Linked DNA regions of Homo sapiens: regions 1, 3, 4 and 5 are each linked to region 2. Evidence: promoter capture Hi-C in human tissues and cell types (Jung and others, 2019). All regions are on one chromosome and are shown on one strand. The core of a region is centred on a gene start or on the middle of the fragment in contact, and the rest is flanking DNA. Distances in the headings are between cores, read along the strand shown. Region 1 overlaps MYO9A (myosin IXA). Region 2 holds the start of PARP6 (poly(ADP-ribose) polymerase family member 6). Region 3 overlaps ARIH1 (ariadne RBR E3 ubiquitin protein ligase 1). Region 4 overlaps TMEM202-AS1 (TMEM202 antisense RNA 1). Region 5 overlaps ARIH1 (ariadne RBR E3 ubiquitin protein ligase 1).

Region 1 (2,715 bases), core at 52-2,551, 170 kb before region 2:
GCCCGGCCAGCCGCCCCATCTGGGAGGTGAGGGGCGCCTCTGCCTGGCCGCCCCTACTGGGAAGTGAGGAGCCCCTCTGCCAGGCCAGCCGCCCCGTCCGGGAGGGAGGTGGCGGGGTCAGCCCCCCGCCCGGCCAGCCGCCCCGTCCGGGAGGGAGGTGGGGGGGTCAGCCCCCCGCCCGGCCAGCCGCCCCGTCCGGGAGGTGAGGGGCGCCTCTGCCCGGCCGCCCCTACTGGGAAGTGAGGAGCCCCTCTGCCCGGCCAGCCGCCCCATCCAGGAGGGAGGTGGGGGGGTCAGGCCCCGCCCGGCCAGCCGCCCCGTCTGGGAGGGAGGTGGGGGGGGTCAGCCCCCCGCCCGGCCAGCCGCCCCGTCTGGGAGGTGAGGGGCGCCTCTGCCCGGCCGCCCCTACTGGGAAGTGAGGAGCCCCTCTGCCAGGCCAGCCGCCCCGTCCGGGAGGGAGGTGGCGGGGTCAGCCCCCCGCCCGGCCAGCCGCCCCGTCCGGGAGGGAGGTGGGGGGGTCAGCCCCCGACCGGCCAGCGGCCCCGCCCGGGAGGTGAGGGGCGCCTCTGCCCGGCCGCCCCTACTGGGAAGTGAGGAGCCCCTCTGCCCGGCCACCACCCCGTCTGGGAGGTGTGCCCAACAGCTCATTGAGAACGGGCCAGGATGACAATGGCGGCTTTGTGGAATAGAAAGGCGGGAAAGGTGGGGAAAAGATTGAGAAATCGGATGGTTGCCGTGTCTGTGTAGAAAGAAGTAGACATGGGAGACTTTTCATTTTGTTCTGTACTAAGAAAACTTCTGCCTTGGGATCCTGTTGATCTGTGACCTTACCCCCAACCCTGTGCTCTCTGAAACATGTGCTGTGTCCACTCAGGGTTAAACGGATTAAGGGCGGTGCAAGATGTGCTTTGTTAAACAGATGCTTGAAGGCAGCATGCTCGTTAAGAGTCATCACCACTCCCTAATCTCAAGTACCCAGGGACACAAATACTGCGGAAGGCCGCAGGGTCCTCTGCCTAGGAAAACCAGAGACCTTTGTTCACTTGTTTATCTGCTGACCTTCCCTCCACTATTGTCCTATGACCCTGCCAAATCCCCCTCTGTGAGAAACACCCAAGAATTATCAATAAAAAATAAATAAATTTAAAAAAAAAAAAAAAAAGAAATAACAGATTAGGTGGTTCCATGGTGTAATGGTGAGCACTCTGGACTCTGAATCCAGAAATAACAGATATATCAGAAAGCCAATCAATACAATCAACCACATCTCAAAAAAATCCAAGAAAATTCAGTAGTTATACACGTCTCTAATGGAGTCTTGGCAAAAGAAAAACAGAAGCTTCCTTGATTCGATAAAAGGTATCTACAAAGCCTACACCATGCTTAATGAGGAAAGGTTGAACATTTTTCCCTTGAGATGAGAAACAAGACAAAGATGGCCCTATAAAGTCCTATCAACATTATGCTGGAGATCTCAGGCAGCAAAGGAAAGCAGGAAAAAAATAAAAGGTATAAGGATTAGAAACAAGAGACAAAATTGTCATTATTTGCATATGACATAATTATATATATAGGAAATCCAGAAGAATCTACAGATAAATTCAAATTATATATGGTTTTTTTTGTTGTTGTTTCTTTGTTTTTTGAGATGGAATCTCACTCTGTCACCCAGGCTGGAGTGCAGTGGTGCGATCTCTGTTCACTGAACCTCCACTCCCGGGTTCAAGTGATTCTCCTCGGCTGAGGAAGGAGAATCACTTGAGCCTGGCAGGCGGAGGTTGCAGTGAGCCAAGATTGCGCCACTGCACTCCAGCCTGGGTGGCAGAGTAAGACTAAGTCTCAAGAAAAAAAAAAAGCAGCAGCAGAAGCAGAAGCAGCAGCAGAAGCAGCAGCAGCAGAAGGAGAAGCAGAGGCAGCAGCAGAAGCAGCAGCAAGCAGCAGCAGCAGAAGCAGAAGCAGCAGCAAGCAGCAGCAGCAGAAGCAGAAGCAGCAGCAAGCAGAGACAGAAGCAGCAGCAGAAGCAGAAGCAGCAGCAGCAGAAGCAGCAGCAAGCAGCAAGCAGCAGCAGAAGCAGCAGCAGCAGAAGCAGAAGCAGCAGCAGAAGAAGAAGCAGCAGCAGAAGCAGAAGCAGCGCAGAAGCAGAAGCAGTGGCAGCAGAAGCAGCAGAAGCAGTGGAAGCAGAAGCAGCAGAAGCAGTGGAAGCAGAAGCAGCAGAAGCAGTGGAAGCAGAAGCAGCAGAAGCAGTGGAAGCAGAAGAAGCAACAGAAGAAGCAGAAGAAGAAACAGAAGAAGCAGAAGTAACAGAAGAAGCAGCAGCAGAAGCAGAAGAATTTCACAAATACTGAACTAATTTTTTAGATTACATAATATACACATAGTATTATTATATGCACATGAAGTTCAAAAACAAGGAAAACTATATTGTTTAAGGATGTATAGCTAGGACTTAAAATTATGAAGCAAAGCAAAAAACAGTCACAAAGGTCAGGATAATAACTACCTCCACTGAGGGGGGATATGTTGACAAGGATGGTGAGGTTGGAGGGAAGCACTTCTGGCTTGTTGACCTGGGCAATGACAACACTAATATTCACTTTATTATTTCCCTTAAACTGAACATTTTATGCCTTCTCTTGTATACAGATGGTCCACAACTTATGACGGTTCAACTTACAGTTTTTCAACTTTAGCACAGTGCAAAATCGATATGCATTC
Region 2 (3,131 bases), core at 109-2,608:
CAGAAGTGCCAACTTTTCACGGTCTTTGTTGCTGCAGAAGTCAAGAAAAATTTAGCCTCTTTCCAAGGGCTGTTGCTGCTTGGTTTCTGTTGCTATCACAAGGAGAAAAAGGTATTTCAGAGGGAGTTTTTCTTGTTCAAGCAAGAGACAGTTCAGAGATTACCGGCTTTTTCAAACCAGGCTGCTTTAGTGAAAGGGACTTGCTTCCTCTACTCTCAATGCCCTTTCCTCTGGAGAGATGGAAAGTGGATTTAAAAGGTGAAGAGTTGGAAAAGGAAGGTGGTGGGTTATGGAATTCACAGGATCACAAACACTTTTTAAAAAATTAGCCGGAAACGTGGCCTAATTCAAAGCTTTCATGTTACACACAGAATACTTAGACCTACAGAGGTCGACCAATTTGCTTAAGGTTAGGAGTACAGAAGGACTGGGATGTAAAGACATTGGACAGGTCCTAATTACATCTAATCTTCATGTGATGTGGTTATAATTAATTGAGTTGTTAATGAAGTAAGCAAGAAAGACCTATCTGATTTATCTAAATGAGGTAAAGAATGGGCCCTTTCAAAAGAAGTTGGGCCAAAAATAGACTATATGATGAGTGTCCAGAGAAGGTGTTAAAACTCAGCGGCTAATATAGAACGCTTTATGAGTTTCCACGAGAATAAGTCAAATGTAAATGAGCCTCAAGTCTGGATCACAAAGGTCTTTCCCTAGGTCCATGGGCGCTTCTCTAGGTGTGACAACTTCACGTCTAGTCAAAGCAGCTTCAGAGCTCAATGTTTAAATTGTGGGTTGGGCTCCCGGCTTTGTGGTCCTGGAGGAGGTTACTCCACTCCATCCCGTGTGCTCCCTTCTCAGGAGTAGGCCACTAAACAAAGACTACTAGGAAGAATCACTGAGGGGCGACTCCCGCAGGTTAGCGCTATCTCGGGCACCCCGCAGGGAGAGAGGACACGGCTGCCCCGCGAAAACACTCTCTGGCACCCGTGCTTCCAGGACAGGCCCTGAGGCCTCTCCCGGGGAAGCAGTTACACCTGTTCTCCGGGGCTCCCCTGAAGACCCCAAAAACACCCAACACCTGCCTCCCCAGGAAAGACGCTCTGGGCCCGATCTATGCCGCCCGGCCGCCGGGCCTGAGTGAAGCCTGTCCAGCCTAGGAGGGGCCCTCAGAACCTCCCGGTCCAAGCCTCTCACTTCGTCCACCCCTGCGGAGACGGGGCGAGCCCCGCACCCTTCCCGTGGCCCGGCCGCACCGCCCTGTGCCCGTGGTGGCGGCCACACAGGCCAGCCTGGCGAGTACTCACGGCGACCCCGGGCCGCGCGCGGCCGCAGCCGACGGGACGAGCGGCCCGGGACGCCCCGCGGGGGCGGAGCGGCAGGCCAAGGGGCGGGGGCCGGGCCTGGCGGGCGAGGTCGCGCACCCCACGCCTCGTCGTTCCGTCACGGGCGCGCTCAGCCACTCTGCGCACGCTCGCGCGGTGACACGATGGCACGTGGCCCGCTCCTGACCAACAGCCTGACGGCCTGCTCCTGGGCGCGCCTCAGCAGCCGACGCCAGCCTTGAGACGCCTGCGCGGCGGTCGCTAGTCGGGAAAGGGTGCGGAGTGGGGGGTGGCGCCTGCGCCGTGGGTAGGGGAGGCAGTGGAGAAGGAAGAGGGACTCTGGGGGAGTGCGGGGAGCCTTCCAAAGGAGAATACTTGCATTTAGCGCCCCGAGTGGTTGGGAGGAACAAGCAGGAAGGGCAACCCAGGTTGCCTGTAGGCCGGGAGGGAGTCCCCTCGCCGGAGGTTGGGGCCGGCAGGTAGAGACTGAGGGAAGTCCTGAGGCCTTGCTGACTGCAGGATTCTCTGGTTCGACAATGGAAGTCGAACACCTCGGGCTTTTAAAAATTCTGGCATTTAACTCATTTGTTCCCCGGTAGCTGCAGCGTGATGGAGAGCACCCTGGCCTTCTAGTCAATCTGGGTCTGAAGCTTGGGTTCGGCACTTATTGATGGTGCAGCCTTAAGCGATGACTTTCACTTTGTGAATCTGATTTCTCCTCTTTGAGGTGGAGACAGTAATATGTGTTTCACGGAGCCGTTGTGGTGAGGATGAACTGAGATAGTGTTAGGTTGAACCGTAGGAAATTGCTATTTTTGCAGTTTATAAACAGTCAGATACCTTCAATTTCATACGATTCCAACTAATCCATGTAAAGTAACCAGCAGAGTACTTGGGACTAGGAAGTAGTTCATACATGGAAGCTGTAATTGTGGTTATTGTGGTTATTAACCCTAGACATGGCCAGATCTCCTTCATCCTTATTAGTCTTGGGGCTTCCACGTGACCCTCTTTTCCATCAACACTAATGGGAAAAGGCTTATCTTAGACCTACTCTGTTTCCTCACTCCCTCTTTGTAGCTGGACACAGTACACACAAAGAAGGCTTTGGCCCTGAATGATATAAACACGTCATGTCTATCCCTCCTAAGCTGGCCTCAGAAGTTTCCCAGTTAACTTTTTGTTGTTGGTTGATTTACATTTGCACATTCTCAGCCTCTCCTTTCTAACTCCTTCCCCTTTTGATGTCCCCCTCTGCTCACCTTGCCACTCAGCCTGGGCCACAACACCGTCTCGGTGTGAGTTTGTTACATCTACTGCTTATAGTAACTGAAAAAAGTGAGGGATCAATATAACCTCGGTTTCAGAGTGCGGAAGTTCAGAGTGGTAGGGGAAGGAGTCAGGCCTGCTCTCTAAAACAACTCACCATCAAGGGCCCCGTAATAGCTTTTGAGAACCAAGTATGTATGGGAGTGTTTGAACATAAGCACTGTGCCCATGAGTGACAAGTCCAACTCCAGTATTCAATAACCTTTAGGATTCCCCCTTTCCAGCATACCACCACTAGCTCTTCTATTCATCATGAATCTCAGCCACCTCATAGTTTACCAGTATCTTCCAGGCTTCACCTCTTTTCCTACCCAGTCCACATCCTTGGTCAGTCATTTTAATCACATCTTTGTTAATATGCTTGCACTTACTCTGTAAAAATCACACTCCTGGGTCATGCCAGCTATCTACCTTCTCTACTCTCCCATCCTAAACCAGGATAAAGGAAGTCATCCAATCCTGCACACTTAAGCTTGT
Region 3 (2,903 bases), core at 148-2,647, 220 kb after region 2:
ATGCTAGTAGTCATTGTGTTCTTCACTATCACACACTCAGAGTAAAAAAATACGTTTCACTTAATCCTAAATGAATAAGTAAAAATTACTAGTTTTCTAAGTCTTTATTCCTTAAGGACACATCTTAATTGCTTGTGTGACAAAATGGGAGGTATGCCTAAAGCACTTCTGCATACTGAAGTATGGTGGTCGTCCCAAAATGAAAACATTTGTGTGTGCTTTTGACTTGTGAGCTTGTTTCTGTTTCTGGACCTACCCTGGGCAGGTTTCCACAGTTGAGAATCTTAGCGTATTGCTGTTACCTCAAATTTCCACACACTACCAGTTTGTCTTTTGAAATGTTATTTTTATAAGATGTCAACCCTGGTATGGTTCACTTTTGTTATATGTTGGCACCTCTGTGGGTTACGGAAAGCTTTGCCCTCCAAAGCAACCAGTTGGTTTTTAGGAAAGGGAAATATTGATCTTTGTGGATAAGTAGAGTCTTGTTAAAAGCTATTAGAAGGCTCTCTTTGGAAAAAAATCAGAAAAATCAAAAGAACTGTGAAAAGGATGATAATAATGGAAAAGAGGCCTTTGTAGCCTTGTGAATGTAATACGTATAGTCACCACAGATTTTTCAGGGAGGCCAGTCACGGTGGTTCAAGCGTGTAATCCCAGCACTTTGGGAGGCTGAGGCAGGAGGATTGATAGAACCAAGGAGTTTGAGACCAGCCTGGGCAACATAGTGAGACCCCATCTCTAGCAAAAAAAATGTTTTTCAGGGAATGCTGAAATGTCTCCTTCTCAAAAAAAAAAAAAAAGTCTCCTTCTCTTACAAGTTAGTCACCTTACTCAGTTTATTACAGCAGGAGTTCCCAATCCTCAGGCTGTGGCCTGTTGTGAACTGGGCAGCACAGCAGGAGGCGAGCAGCCAGGGAGCGTTACCACCTGAGCTCTGCCTCGTGTCAGATTGGCAGCGGCATTAGATTCTCATAGGAGTGCAAACCCTATTGTAAATTGTGCATTCAAGGGATCTAGGTTGGCACTCCTTATGAGAATCTAATGCCTGATAATCTGAGGTGGAATATTCATTGTTATTGTCTGACTCCACTCCCCTCCCGCTCCTTTCATGGAAAAATTGTCTTCCATGAAACCAGTCCCTAGTGCCAAAAAGTTGGGGACCACTGTACTGTAGTTTCAAAAATGTTCATATTTGGCCTAAATCTATAGTCTGAGGAAGCATATCACATCTTTATCATTCATGACAAGCAGGGATGGGAGAGGAAGCAGGGATAGGAGTGGTTATGTGGGCAGCCAATAGCATAGGAAACTTAAAAGGAACCTACTTAGCCAAACATGTTTTGAGCCTTTGAGTCCCAGTGACTAAACAATGCAGATTAGGATAAAAGATTTGCTCACACCTGTAATCCCTGCACTTTGGGAGGCCGAGGTGGGCAGATCATGAGGTCAGGAGTTCGAGACCAGCCTGGCCAACATGGTGAAACCCCGTGTCTACTAAAAATATAAAAATTAGCCCGGTGTGGTGGTGTGCTCCTGTAATCCCAGCTACTCGGGAGGCTGAGGCAGGAGAATTGCTTGAACCTGGGAGGCAGAGGTTGCAGTGAGCCGAGATCGTGCCACTGCACTCCAGGCTGGATGACAGAGTAAGACTCTTGTCTCGAAAAAAATAAAAATAAAAAATAAAAGATTTATTAGCATGATAAATCAGGCTTTTCATAATGTGCCCCTATCTACCTTAGCTGCCATTTCTTTATGCTTATTCGTATTATAGCATAATAATCACATTCCCTGTGGAAATTTTCTGTATGCCTTTGTAAGGTTTTTTTCCTATGCTTCAAATGCTTCCCCCCACCCCCCCATAAACCCATTCATACTTCATGACCCACTGTAAATATTGTTTCTTCCTTGAATCTTTCCCTGTGAGCCTCAGAATTTTGTATATACTTTTATAATAAAAAGCTCTTATCTCATTATTTCCTTACTAGATAGACTCTGAAATTCTTGGTTGTTTGATCAGTGTATTAATTTTGGTATTCACGTTGTACCCACAAAGTTCCTGGAACATAGCTGTTAGACATTGAGTGAAAAGTCAGATATGAATGAATTTTCTAATTGATTTTATTATTGATAAAAATAAGTCTTGGTACTATCCCCATTTTTTTCCTTTGTGAATTGTTCACATTTCTCTTCTACCAAATTCACTGAATTAACCCTTCCCTCATTCTCTAACATACTACTTTTTGCTCTTAACCAGTTATCTTACGGAACTTTAGTTATCACAACTGTTATGTGAAATAGGTGACATTTTTACTGTTTTGTGGTTAAGGAATTAGAGGCATAGAGGAATTAAATAACCAGCTTTTCATAGCTGGAGTTGGAACTCAGTATTTTATATCATTAAATATACACAAACGTGTGAATGTTATTGTTGTGTGTGCTGGGTATTTTCTGTTTGCCTCTGCGGAACTCTTCTACCTTTTTCCATCCTGCTGTGCTCCAGAAGACTGACTTATACAGGCTGAGTCAATGGGCTCTGACTTGTGACTTCATTGCTGTGGCCTCTGAATCCAAATAAATGACTAAGAGTGGAATAGAGTCAGAAGTCTACTACATACCCCATTTAAGACTTTACAGCTTACATATGTACCATCCTCAAGAAAATATCAAGCCAAAATTGCTGTTATATTTACTGTTTTCTACTCTAAGCATTTAAAAACACAAAGTTTAATAAAAAATAATTCTCGACCAAAGTAATAGAATACATATATATTATATAAAATTTGTTCGTTATTTATGTATGAAGTTACAAACTTAGACTAGTGGTCCAAAAAGCCCAGCATTCTTCTGAAAGAAGCACCAAGAGATTCTGGAAGAATAGCACCGTGAAACTGTTATGGAGG
Region 4 (3,116 bases), core at 590-3,089, 190 kb after region 2:
CTTAAGCTTAGCCACACAAGTATGTGCATATACAATTATTTTATTTTTTGATCTGATGCTGACAGTGCTGTGCGTTTTACCTGAACTCAGAAAATTTAATTTCTAAATTATAATATATGGTTAGATATTTACTAAAATCCTGAAACTAGAATTTTACTCCCAATCTTAGACCTTGCAAATGGTAACTCTAGTTTAGTGTACACATTTTCAACATGGGCAATATTACTCCCCAAGAGGAAAAAATTGTTTTTTTGGGAGGGTATGAAAAAAAGTATGTTTTATATATAAAGCATAGATACACATACAGTCCATTAAAGCATATACAGTGTATCTATGGTGTTAAAATTTTACAGTGGGGTGCTGAATAGGAAAAACAGGTCTAAAAGGGTTCCATAAGGGGGCTGATAATGGAAATAAAAGTTGAGAAACATGGCCCTAGTGCTAAGCTTAACAGACAGCTGTTTGACGAACCATCTGGCATTAGATTTTTTTCCTGCATGATTTCCTGTATTAGAATATAAGCTTCTTAAGGACAGAAAATGTAATCTGATTTGTATTTTCAATAATAGCTAACACAATAGTTACGTTCAACTGCATTCAGTATATGTATATTTAATTGAATTAATATGGAGTACATCTTCCCCTACTTGCACTCATCCTATTAGCTCTATAAAATCTAAATGTAATGACCAAAATTAGTCTAGTAAAGCACAACCTATCACAATCTCCCTCACAAAAATCCTAGTAAAATAATGACAAATTTTATTCAAAGAATGGAAAATCTTCAAAGTAGCATAAGAGAAGGAGTACAGACTAGAGACAGAGAGATGAATCAGGGCTTTGATTTCCACCTCTTATCATTTGCAAGCCGAGGAGCCTTGAGCCAAGTTATGTAAAGAGAAAGTGAAAGAGGATAAAAAAGAATAAAAAAGGGACCTTTCTAGGGGAAGGGTACAAGAAGGGACAATGGCATTTCTAGCAGGTTTTTGTTTTGTTTTGAGACAGGGTCTCGCTCTGTCTCCAGGCTGGAGTGCAGTGGTGCGATCTTGGCTCACTGCAACCTCTGCCTCCCGGGTTCAAGCGATTCTTGTGCCTCAGCCCTCCCCCCGAGTAGCTGTGATTACAGGCAAGTGCCACTAGGTTTGGCTAATTTTTTGTATTTTCAGTAGAGACAGGGTTTCGCCATGTTGGCCGGGCTGGTCTCAAACTCCTAGCCTCATGTGATTCGCCTGCCTCGGCTCCCAAAGTGCTGGGATTACAAGCATGAGCCGCCGTGCCTGGCCCTAACAGTCTTATATACACCCAAAATTTCAGGCATGCTGAATTTCTGGCAGTTCCCCAAATAATGCATGGCTCAAATATGCCGTATTTCACACTTACATATTTTATATATACATTCACATTCCTCTTCCCAGAACATCATTTATTTGTCCTCCAATACTCAGCTCAGGTCACACTTTTTTTTTTTTTGGATGGAGTCTTGCTCTGTTGCCCAGGCTAGAGTGCAGTGGCACGATCCTGGCTCACTGCAAACTCTGCCTCCCAGGTTCACGCCATTCTCCTGCCTCAGCCTCCCAAGTAGCTGGGACTACAGGCGCCCGCCACCACACCTGGCTAATTTAAAAAAATATATATTTTAGTAGAGACGGGGTTTCACCGTGTTAGCCAGGATGGTCTCGATATCCTGACCTCGTGATCCGCCCACCTTGGCCTCCCAAAGTGCTGGGATTACAGGCGTGAGCCACCATGCTTGGCCAGCTCAGGCCACATTTTCCCTAGGAAGGCCTCCATGACACGCTTGTGTGCCTTCTACACTGAGTTAGATACATATATTCTTGCTTCCCTAACATTCAGATCATACTTCTACTATAGTACTTATAATTAATGGTTTACATGTCTGCTTCTCTTACTAGCCTGAGAACTTCTTGAGAGCTGAAATGGTTTTATTTATTTATCTTTTCAGACAGAGTCTCGTTCTGTTGTCCAGGCTGGAGTGCAATGGCGGGATCTCGGCTCACTGCAACCTCCGCCTCCTGGGTTCAAGTGATTCTCCTGCCTCAGCATCCTGAGCAGCTGGTTTACAGGCGCATGCCAGCACACCTGGCTAATTTTTTTTTTTTTTTTTGCATTTTTAATAGAGACAGGATTTCACCGTCTGGCCAGGCTGGTCTCAAACTCCCAACCTCAGGCGATCCGCTCGCCTCGGCCTCCCAATGTGCTGGAATTACAGACAGGCGTGAGCCACCGCGCCTGGCCTATTTATCTTCTTAACCTCAACATCTAGCACAGTGCCTGACATGTTAGTGAACAACTGACTTGTTGAATTAACTAATAAAAATACAGGCATACAAGAAGAGCACAGTAGCATTTTCAGCAATTTGACAAATGAATATTGCTTTGTTTTCTTCAAAGGGCCACTACTTTAAAATTGAATAATCATCTTTGTATATAGTCAGACCTAAAACAAAGCTCTGTACACTTCCTGTGTCAAATAATAATAATGTAAGTCCTTTACACTAACTCATTTCATCATTGCAATCCAATGAGGAAAACCTTATTATTTTTCCTTTTTTTTTCCTCAGATGAGGAAACAGGCTTGTAAGAGGTAAACTAATTTGCCTAAGGTCACATATTTAATAAGTAGGGTTTCTAGCTCTGGCATGTATGGTGCTAACTACCACACTATTGTGCCTCTCAAAGTCAGCTGAGTAAGAATACTCACTGTTGCACAATATCTCATCCCTCTGTCTGACCCTCTCCACCTGCAATCTCCCATATACACTCACTTAGGAGAAACAAAGGCTCACGGCTCATACATGCAGCTTGTGATTTAGAAAAAAAATGTGCCCACATATGCTCGGCTTTGCTTAATGTAAACAAATATACTAATCAATATGGTATAAACCTCCAGGACTATTCTGTTTTAATAACATGTAGATACAATGTAATGATTTTAATTACTTTATTGTCCTGTCAAATTCTTTAAAATGGGAACTTGAGGCCGGGTGCGGTGGCTCACGCCTGTAATTCCAGCACTTTGGGAGGACAAGGTGGGCGGATCACCTGAGGTCGGGAGTTTGAGACCAGCCTGACCAACATGGAGAAACCCCATCTCT
Region 5 (2,947 bases), core at 196-2,695, 240 kb after region 2:
GATATTTTCGTGTGTTTTTCAGCCAATTGTAATATGGGAATTGATGAACTGTCCATTTTTGTTGGATTATTTTCTTTTTTGAGTGGGTATGCTTGCTCATTTTTGTTGTAGCATTTATAAATATTCCTTAGAATACAGATGTTTTTATACTTTGTGACTTTTGAGTTTCTAATATTGTTTAAAAAGTATTAAAAAATTCTCTTTAAATTTTGGACCCATAAGCAGCTCATTTGAGGAGCTTGTAGATTTTATGCAAACATGAGCCCATGCTTCTGTAGGAAAATCTTAAAACTGAGGTTTAAGGTGGTGCCTCTAACCTGTTTAATTCTCGTTCAGATCAAATTCTGAAATAATAAAAAGGTGGGTTTTGGAGGTTTTCTGTGTATGTAAACTGGAATAAAAAAGTGGTTTTTTTTTGTTTTTTTTGTTTGTTTTTTTACTTAGCTTTATCCTAAAATAAGAAAGTTGTCTCTTGAGATTTTTGAAAAAGTAGTTGCCTCCCACTCTGCTAAATATAGGAATGTCATTCAGCAATTTGGTTGTGATTATTTTTATGTATGTATGTATGTATGTATGTATGTATGTATGTATGTATTTATTTATTTATTTTTTGAAACGCAGTCGTGCCCTGTCGCCCAGGCTGGAGTGCAGTGGCATGATCTCAGCTCACCGCAACCTCTGCCTCCTGGGTTCAAGTGTTTCTCTTGCCTCAGCCTCCCAAGTAGCTAGGACTATAGGCGCACACCACCGTGCCCGGCTAATATTTGTATATTTTTGGTAGAGACGGGGTTTCACCATGTTGGCCAGGCTGGTCTCGAACTCTGACCTCAAGTGATCCGCCTGCCTTGGCCTCCCAAAGTGCTGGGATTACAGGCGTGAGCCACCATGCCTGGCTTTGGTTGTGATTCTACCTGGAGAGTTTGTCATACTCTTGAATATGGGCCTGTCTGCACACATGTGTGCATCCAGATTATGATTCTCCACTGTGACTGCTTATTGGAATCTCTTGGGAGTTTTTGAAAATGGTAATGCCCAGGTGTCCCCCTCAGTCCTCTTCCTCACTCCCCCCATATTCTGATATATTTGGCCTGGGGTTTGTGGCTTGTTTAAAAGCTTCCTAGATGGCTGTGCACAGTGGCTCATTCCTATAATCCCTGTGTTTTGGGAGGCTGAAGCTGGAGGATTGCATGAGCCCAGGAATTTGAGACCAGCCTGGGCAACATAGCAAGATCCTGTCTTTAAATAAAAATAAATAAATAAATAACAGTCAATTAAGAGCTTATGTGCTACTAAAATTGAGAACTACTTGATCAAAGGATAGGGGATGATGGTGCAATTGATGTTAAAGCTTCAGCTAGGACAGTTGACATAATCAGACTTACTAATCAACTTTTTCAAAATGCAAAACTTTAAAGTAAATACAGCTGCTCTGAGCCTGGAATGTTATTTTCTTTAGATTACTAAAATACTATACTGCCACATTCATGGGAGTTCTACAGATGTACTTTTTCGGAGCCTGTGTAGTGGGAAATTGTTTAGAGCAGTAGTTCCCAGTTCTGTCTGCATGTTAGGATCATCTGGGGACCTTCAGATAAAAATGTTGGATGAAAATATATATATTCATATTCTACCCTTGACAGTTGAATCAGAATTGCTGGGGGCAAAGCCCAATTAATGGTATTTTTTAAGTTCCTCAGGAGATTCTTATATGTAGCCAGAATGGACAGGGGTGGGTGGTACTGATTTAGAGTTATAACTAGACAAGATGTAAGGTTTTAGGTTGTTCTATTGTCCTAAAAGTTAAATGTACTGCTGCTAGTATTAGTACTAGTTTTCTGATTATAGTGATTTTACTCAAACTGTTTTTGTTTGGTTTGTTTATATCCTTTAAAAAGGATGAAGAGCTCTTTATTTCAGCCAAGAGCTTGAATTGGCTTTTCACTGAACTATCAGTTTTGGTGGCACACCGAAGTGAATTTCTCTCCTTTGACAAGTCCTTGTAGGGAGTGGTGCTATAATCATAAATTAAAAAATAATTTCTCCATGTATTCAAATCCTACTAGCCTATTTTATCCTGGACCAAGACACTTAACCTCTGTAACCTCATCTGTAAAATGTAAATCATATCTAACTTGCATAAAATATTGATGTGAGTATTAAATGAAATAATGTATATAAAGTATCTAGCATTGTGCCCGGCACTAAATAATTTCAAATCTATGTTCTCCTTTTCAGCATTCCCTTTTACTCTCATTGTTCTTTCTTTCTTTTTTTTTTTTTTTTGAGACGGAGTCTCTCTCTATCACCCAGGCTGGAGTGTAGTGGTGCAGTCTCGGCTCACTGCAACCTCCACGTCCCGGGTTCAAGCAATTCTCCTGTCTCAGACTCCCGAGTAGCTGGGACTACAGGCATACGCCACCATGCCCGGCTAATTTTTGTATTTTTAGTAGAGATGAGGTTTCACCATATTGGTCAGGCTGGTCTCAAACTCCTGACTTTAGGTGATCTACCCGCCTTAGCTTCCCAAAGTGCTGGGATTACAGGTGTGAGCCACTGTGCCTGGCCCTTTTTTTTTTTTTTTGAGACTGAGTCTTGCTCTGTTGCCCAGGCTGGGTGCAGTGGCCTGATCTCAGCTCACTGCAACCTCCGCTTCCTGGGTTCAGGTGATTCTCATGCCTCAGCCACCCAAGTAGCTGGGACTACAGGCGTGCATCACCACTCCCAGCTAATGTTTATATTTTTAGTAGAGACAAGGTTTCATCATGTTGGTCAGCCTGGCCTTGAAGTCCTGACCTTAAGTGATCACCTGCCTCGGTCTCCCAAAGTGGTGGGATTACAGGTGTGAGCCACCACACCTGGCCCACATTGTTCTTTTTAAAAGAACTTCACTACAGGTGCTCCAGTGCAGGCTAGATTACGTTTATAGTTGAATACTTTAAGTTTCATA

The links. The method cuts DNA at HindIII sites, captures the fragments that hold promoters and counts their contacts. A contact is called where the count stands out against the background at its distance.
Region 1: a fragment that was not itself captured here is called in contact with the fragment with the promoter of PARP6 in region 2 in 1 of the 25 tissues and cell types used here (hippocampus).
Region 3: a contact is called between a fragment that was not itself captured here and the fragment with the promoter of PARP6 in region 2, in 1 of the 25 tissues and cell types used here (bladder).
Region 4: a fragment that was not itself captured here is called in contact with the fragment with the promoter of PARP6 in region 2 in 2 of the 25 tissues and cell types used here (hippocampus and spleen).
Region 5: a contact is called between a fragment that was not itself captured here and the fragment with the promoter of PARP6 in region 2, in 1 of the 25 tissues and cell types used here (mesenchymal stem cells).

What each region holds. Positions count from the first base shown.
Region 1 is chr15:72,101,355-72,104,069 of GRCh38, forward strand. The region is part of intron 1 of MYO9A (myosin IXA); the gene reads right to left. Among named protein-coding and RNA genes, the nearest start is that of MYO9A, 15 kb to the right of the region's middle. RefSeq lists an enhancer at 714-1,224. The HindIII fragment of the contact is 8,126 bases long and covers 1-2,715 here.
Region 2 is chr15:72,271,196-72,274,326 of GRCh38, forward strand. It overlaps PARP6 (poly(ADP-ribose) polymerase family member 6), which reads right to left and starts at 1,359. Exons shown (of 24, transcript NM_001323532.2): 1 at 1,198-1,359; 2 at 1-92. RefSeq lists a silencer at 1,102-1,521 and enhancers at 1,662-1,711, 1,772-1,861. The HindIII fragment of the contact is 3,446 bases long and covers 1-2,550 here.
Region 3 is chr15:72,489,455-72,492,357 of GRCh38, forward strand. All of the region lies in intron 1 of ARIH1 (ariadne RBR E3 ubiquitin protein ligase 1), which reads left to right. Among named protein-coding and RNA genes, the nearest start is that of ARIH1, 17 kb to the left of the region's middle. The HindIII fragment of the contact is 3,971 bases long and covers 1-2,903 here.
Region 4 is chr15:72,461,167-72,464,282 of GRCh38, forward strand. The region is part of intron 1 of TMEM202-AS1 (TMEM202 antisense RNA 1); the gene reads right to left. Among named protein-coding and RNA genes, the nearest start is that of TMEM202-AS1, 12 kb to the right of the region's middle. RefSeq lists an enhancer at 840-1,109. The HindIII fragment of the contact is 4,046 bases long and covers 1-3,116 here.
Region 5 is chr15:72,506,429-72,509,375 of GRCh38, forward strand. All of the region lies in intron 1 of ARIH1 (ariadne RBR E3 ubiquitin protein ligase 1), which reads left to right. Among named protein-coding and RNA genes, the nearest start is that of ARIH1, 34 kb to the left of the region's middle. The HindIII fragment of the contact is 4,796 bases long and covers 1-2,947 here.